Linked DNA regions of Homo sapiens: region 1 is linked to region 2. Evidence: promoter capture Hi-C in human tissues and cell types (Jung and others, 2019). All regions are on one chromosome and are shown on one strand. Each heading gives the region's core, a stretch centred on a gene start or on the middle of the fragment in contact. The rest is flanking DNA. Distances are from core to core; before and after follow the strand shown.

Region 1 (3,386 bases), core at 690-3,189, 55 kb after region 2:
ACCATGAGTGTCTGTCATCAAACTCTGTGGCTTAGGCTCACGATGGCCCTGTGGTTTGAGAGGACTGTGGACAGAGTGTGAAAAGCATGTAGAATGGGAACTGAAGGTTCTATTCCCAGGACCCTCATCTGTGAGATATTAGGCAAGTCAGTTCGATGCTCAGGGCCTCTGTTTCTTCATCAATAAAATGAAGGTGGTGGATGGCATGTTTCCATTCCTCTCAAACCCTGACGTTTAATTCTGTAGTCATTACTGTTTTTCTTGAAGTGTACCTCTGGGTCAAGAGACTGAAAACAAGAAAATACGCATTGGCTCCTTCACACCTTCATGGCTTACAGAGATTTAAACACATAGTGATTCTACTTTTAATCAAGGGATATTGGCACAGACACATTTTCCCAAGTTATGAGAGCAGCTGTAAGACCCATGGTGGAACAACCCGTAAGCATTTTTAAAAGCCATTTTGCTCTCCTTTGCAAAAGAGCCCTAGAAGTAAAAACGATCAATTCATCAGCATTTATTTCTTACCCAACTCATTTTTGTTATTTTATCTTAGCTGATTTGACAAATAGTTGTTCCCTAAAGAACCAATATGTAGGGCCAGGGCCAGTGTCTCACGCCTGTAATCCCAGTACTTTGGGAGGCCAAGACAGGTGGATCACTTGAGCCCAGGAGTTTGAGACCAGCCTGGGCAATATGGCAAAACCCTGTCTCTACAAAAAAATACAAAAAATTAGCCTGGCATGGTGGCACACGCCTGTAGTCCCAGCTACTCAGAGGCTGAGGTGGGAGAATCGCCTGAGCCCCAGAGGTTGAGGCTGCAGTGAGCTGTGATTGCACCACTGCACTCCAGCCTTAGCACTAGAGTGAGATCCTGTCACAAAAACACAGAGAAAAAAAAAAAGAACCAATATGTGATGTGGATGTTGATCAAAACTCCTGTCACTTATTCTTAATTGAATTATCGAACTAAGGTCTTTCTTAGCTCTTCATTCAAAATCCACCACTCGACCGGTCGCAGTGGCTCACGCCTGTAATCCCAGCACTTTGGAAGGCCGAGATGGACGGATCACCTGAGGTCAGGAGTTCAAGACCAGGCTGGCCAACATGGCAAAACCCTGTCTCTACTAAAGTACGAAAATTAGCTGGGTGTGGTGGCCCGCGCCTATAATCCCAGCTACTTGGGAGGCTGAGGCAGGAGAATTGCTTGAACCCAGGAGGTGGAGGTTACAGCAAGCTGAGATCATACAACTGCACTCCAGCCTGGGCCACAGAGCGAGACTCTGTCTCAAAAGAAACCAACCAACCAAACAAACGGACAAAAACAAAAAACAAAATCCACCCCTCTGTTCCTTAATATTAGGATCTTTCTCCAGATTTTCTTGAAGATCCCATGGATAAAGGAGATACTCTGATTTATTAAAGTGTTTCAGCCACAAAAGATTCCACTGATTCTGCTCTAGAAAAGTGATCAGAGGATATGCAAGCCCGGCACCACACCCATGTTAGGATCAAAGCACCGGATACTGTCTCCCTTGCCCCCATCTTAGAGGAAGAAGCAGGTGTGTAAGGACCTCACTCTGTAGAGCCATGGAAGGTAAGGGGCCAGTCCCCTTTTACTCCTATTTTATAACAGGACAAGTAAGGATCAAAAAGGTTGTATGACTTCCAAGGTCCCACAGCTGAGTCAGTGATTTTATTTATTTATTTATTTTTATTTTTTAATTTGAGACGGAGTTTCGCTCTTGTTGCCCAGGCTGGAGTGCAATGGTGCACTCACACACAACCTCCACCTCCCGGGTTCAAGCGATTCTCCTGCCTCAGCCTCCTGAGTAGCTGGGATTACAGGCCTGAGCCACCTTGCCCGGCTAATTTTGTATTTTTAGTAGAGACAGGGTTTCTCCATGTTGGTCAAGCTGGTCTTGAACTCCCAACCTCAGGTGATATACCCGCCTCGGCCTCCCAAAGTGTTGGGATTACAGGCGAGAGCTGCCGCGCCCGGCCGAGCCAGGGATTAAACTGTGTCACATCGATTCAGTGACTCCCAAGTCTAGGACTCTTCCCAGCATGAGTATGCAATCATTTATCATAATCATTTCTCAATAGCTTCTCTTCCCCATTAGGTAAATACCCTTTAAACACTGAGCTCATGTCACACACAAGAGTTGATGTCATTGGCTCTGGAACTCTTCTCGTTCATGGTCCCAGAGGAGCTGAATGCTGCAGATAGCAGGGTCCTGCCGTGGGTTCTTAAACCATTTACTCTCAAGGTCCTTGGAAAGCTTAAAAGCCAAACATGTCAAGCACACCTGTTTGGGTTTTATTTCAAGCATAAATTGGAGATGTTGTTTGCCTTCGCATGCATGTTTCCCATTAGTAAGATGTTGCGATTTTCCAGCTATGCCTATTAAACACACGCAGGTGTCCTGATAGAGTCTGGGGAAAGGTCATTGTGGGCTGGCTGTGTGAGGGGGAAGGAGAGGGCCTTTGTAATTGTGCGCATACCAGGGGTTTGAGCTAAACTTCTTACTGGGGGGTGTGAGCTAAACTTCCCGCAGACTCAAACTTTTTCCAGTTAAGTGCCTTGTTACTGGTTACTAGGCTGTCCTCCCAGTCTTCCTTTCCACTCCCAGAGGGGGCTGATCGCACAAGTACAAAGTATGTTGCTGCATTCCTAACCCCACCAGCTCTGAGCCCTTCAGGAATAAATCACATGGCAAGCTGGAGGGAGCTGCAGGGACAGAGGCCAAAGCTGTCTTTCCTTGTGTAAGGGAGGAACTCTTGCTGGCCGGGGAACCTCTTGGAATTGGTCTTTTTTGGGGTTTCAGAGGCAAAGCTTGAACACCATCAGTCAAGAGTGGTTCCGCGTCTCCAGCCGGAAGTCGTCTAGCCCCGCCGTGGTGGCCTCCTACCTCCACGAGGTCCAGCCTCACTCCCCACACTTCCTGAAACTGCTTGTCAACTTGGCCGATCACAACGGGAACACGGCCCTTCACTACAGCGTGTCCCACTCCAACTTCTCCATCGTGAAGCTGCTGCTGGAGACAGGTCAGAAGTGGTTGCATTCATACAGTCTGGGTCCCTCCTTGAAGAGCAGGGCAATTTTTAAAATTTTTTTCAAAAATTTCAATAGCTTTAAAGGTACAAGTGGTTTTTGGTTACATGGATGAATTGCACAGTGGTGAAGTCTGGTCTTGTAGTATACCCATCACCCAAATAGCATACATGGTACCCAATAGGTAGCTTTTCCTCACTGCCTTCCACCCTCCCCTCTTCTGACTCTCTGGTATAATTGTCCATTATGCCACTCTGTATGTCTTCGTGTACCTGTGGCTTAGCTCCCATTTAAATGAGAACATGCAGTATTTGGTTTTCCGTTCTTGAGT
Region 2 (3,208 bases), core at 246-2,745:
ACATGTTGGCCAGGCTTGTCTCAAACTCCTGACCTCAGCTGATCCACCCACCTTGGCCTCCCACAGTGCTGGGATTACTGGCGTGAGCCACCGTGTCCGGCTGATGGCTTCTTTTTCAAAATGGGAGGATCTGGCCACATGAATCCCTTTCCCTAGATGACAAAATAGACTGAGCTGAGTAGCAGCAGCCCCTTCCCTTGGGCAAGAACCTGGAGCTGCTATCAAGCTCACCACAGTCCCCACCACTCCCTACTATGTCCCAACACTGGGACCAAGTCTCTGCTGCCATTTATTATTGCTCTGGGATATTGATTTGCTCCAGTGGAGCTCTAGTGGAAGTGAAATCGTTCAAATAACCATATTTCTATAAAAACGTAAAATGAAAGTCCTAGAAAGTACTCCCCCATCTGGGTCACAATGTCAAAAACGAAACCCCTTTGCCTAAGTGTTAGCCCTTGCCAATGGGCCCATGAAGGATGCCCATTGTGGGGGTCAGAGCTGGCATCCGGAGTCTTACGGGGTCCACGGCCCTCTACTTGCCTATCTCTGTTGTCTTCATCTGTAAAGGAGGAGTAGCAGCAGCTCCTTTTTCCTAGGGTTAGGGTGCACAACGCCCACCAGGCACTTAGTGAACTGTTCATTCAAGGTTAGCGGTTGAAACGCAAACATTTTGAACTGATAAAAAACTCTGGTGGGCCGGGCGCCGTGGCTCATGCATGTAATCCCAGCACTTTGGGAGGCCGAGGTGGGCGGATCACCTGACGTTCGAGACCCGCCTGGCCAACATGGTGAAACCCCGTCTCTACTAAAAATACAAAAGTTAGCTGGGCGTGGTGGTGTGCGCCTGTAGTCCCAGCTACTCGGGAGGCTGAGGCAGGAGAATCGCTTGAACCAGGGAGGCGGAAGTTCCAGTGAGTCGGGATCGCGCCACTGCTCTCCAGCTTGGCCATAGAGCGAGATTCCGTCTCAAACAGCAACAACAACAACAAACCTTTGGTGGGAGGTCGGAGTGTGAAATGAAAGACTTAGGGTTCCTGAGTGGGACTACAGCAAGGATTGGGAAGAAAAAAAGGAGATGGAAAAAGACGATTTAGGAGAGGTAAAAGTTCTGTTACTAGGACCCCAGCCCTCACTGGCCCACATCCGCTGGCGAGGACCTAACTTACTGCACCCAGCTTCCCAGTGGCCAGACCTAGGTTCCAGTCCTGGCTGGGGCAAGTCATTACCTTGTCTGGTGCTGTTTCTGCACCTATCAAATGAGGATGGAAATGTCTAGATGAACCGAGATAAACGCATACGAAAGCACTTTGGGAATCTGAAAAGCGCTATGAACAGGTTAGGAGTTTTTGGTCTCTTTTCAAAAAGTTTTTCTTCTAAGCTCATGTTTATCAAGGGCTTTTGAGTTTATCGAGGCTAAGACCCTCCCCTCGGTTTCGCAATTCTGCCCCTTCCTACACACCAAAGTCCGCGCCGCGTCAGGAGTCTTTTTTTTCTCCCCTAGCGAAGGCGGGGACTCGGGCGCTGTTGGCAGCTGGCGACGCGGGGCGAAGCCGCGGCTGGCGGCGCCTGGCCAGTCCCGCATCCGCCGCGGTGGGTGTGCCCGCAGGGGTGCGCCGGGGCCAGGGCCGAGACCGTCGGCCAGAGGGCGCCTGGAGGGTGTGCGCGCCGCGGACGACCAGGGTGCGCCAGCCCCGGGGTGCGCGCCTGGGACGCGGACAGTGCACCCGGAGGTTGCGTGCGCTCCGAAGCCGGGGTGTGCGCCTAGCTGCCCCGGCCCCGTGCACCGCGGGCCGCCTCGCGCAGGACTTCCGCAGCTCGCCAAGGTAAGGGACTCTGCGACCCCAGTCCCCCGCAGTGCGTCTGCTGGGGTGTTCAACACCCGCCCTGCGCGACCCGAGTGTTGGCCCCGGCGCTCGACCACTCTCCTCTTGCCTCTGCCACCCGCCTCGCCCAGTCCCCAGCGCCGCGTCCCCGGCTCCCTTTAAAGCAGTGGCTGCGGCAGCTTGGGCCGACCTGGCGCCCCCGCCTCCCAGCCTGGGGTCTGCGACAGAAAAGGAGCGGGGCTGCTCGGGCTGCCCAAAGGTGGGCGCCGCTCCCTTTCCAGCCCAGATTGGCTCTCCGCGCCCCAATTCTGGGGGTGGAGAACACTGGTGAGGAGGGGGAGGCCGTGCTGTCCTTGCGACTCAGGTGGTGCAGCCCCCGCCCAGCTTTTCCGAGCTAGGCGCTGCGGTCTGGGATGCAGCCTGCGGGACTGGGCGTTCTTTGCCGCGGGCTCCCACTGCTACCTGGAATCGAGCTCTTAGTCTCTCTCCTGTCGCAAAAGTCTCCCCGTAGTGCCAACCCTGGCACTCCTCGGCCCCTGGCTGAACTTTCCAGGGCTCCCTTTGGGCCGCGACCTTGGGCGGAGGCAATGGGGCAGCTCCGAGTGCTCTAGACGCCGCCGAGGGCGCTTTGCCCAGCCCGCATGCCTCCTGTGGGCTCCTTTCCCTTCTGCCTCTCCGGTAAGGTCAAATCTGTGACTGGGTACTTTGACCCCGCAGACTGGCCAGAAATGGGAGTTGGAAAGTCGAGCCCATGGCCGCTACGCTGGGTCTGAACCTAACTCTTGCCCTGGGCATCCTTCGGGGCTGCCAAACTCAAGTCTTAGTTCCTAAGCGCCCTGGAGTGCAAGCCTTTAGGGCAAAGAGGGAGTATTTTCCAGGAGAGGGAGGAGGACCCCCTGAGGCCTGGGCAAAGTCCTATCTACCAAATAGGGCCAGAGGAGGATCAGATGCAGCCAGTGACCCGGCTGAGGCATGGGGAGAAAGCATCTTGAGTTAAACACGATTCCCAAGGACCTGCTTGGGTAAATCAAGCCCAGGTTGCTTAGAGCCTCTCAAAATGTGACACAGGAAAGCTACACTGGGAATGGAGGCAGAGTCCGTTCTAATACTGCCTTTTCAAGCCCAGCCTTCCCACTTCACTGGACCATAATGTGACCTGGGGAAAGTGAGTTTTGGGGAATGGCTCGGGGATCAGACCAGACTGATTCAATCAACAAATGCTCTGTGCCAGGCACTGGTCAACGTAGTGAGGTACAGAAGTGAACAAAACTGGCACCTTCTGGCCTCATGGAGCTTGCATTCCAGTGGCCAACACCAACAGGAATTAAATCACTCACATAAATAGAGAATTCTCCAGTGCTGAGTTCTTTGAAAGGACTAGATAC

Evidence for each region. Contacts are between HindIII fragments. The study calls those that stand out against the background at their distance.
Region 1: a fragment that was not itself captured here is called in contact with the fragment with the promoter of KANK4 in region 2 in 1 of the 25 tissues and cell types used here (H1 embryonic stem cells).

Annotation. Positions count from the first base shown.
Region 1 is chr1:62,262,754-62,266,139 of GRCh38, reverse strand. KANK4 (KN motif and ankyrin repeat domains 4) reads left to right here. Exons shown (of 10, transcript NM_181712.5): 7 at 2,829-3,048. Among named protein-coding and RNA genes, the nearest start is that of KANK4, 55 kb to the left of the region's middle. The HindIII fragment of the contact is 3,320 bases long and covers 280-3,386 here.
Region 2 is chr1:62,317,721-62,320,928 of GRCh38, reverse strand. It overlaps KANK4 (KN motif and ankyrin repeat domains 4), which reads left to right and starts at 1,495. Exons shown (of 10, transcript NM_181712.5): 1 at 1,495-1,823. RefSeq lists enhancers at 1,455-2,177, 2,178-2,902. The HindIII fragment of the contact is 19,099 bases long and covers 1-3,208 here.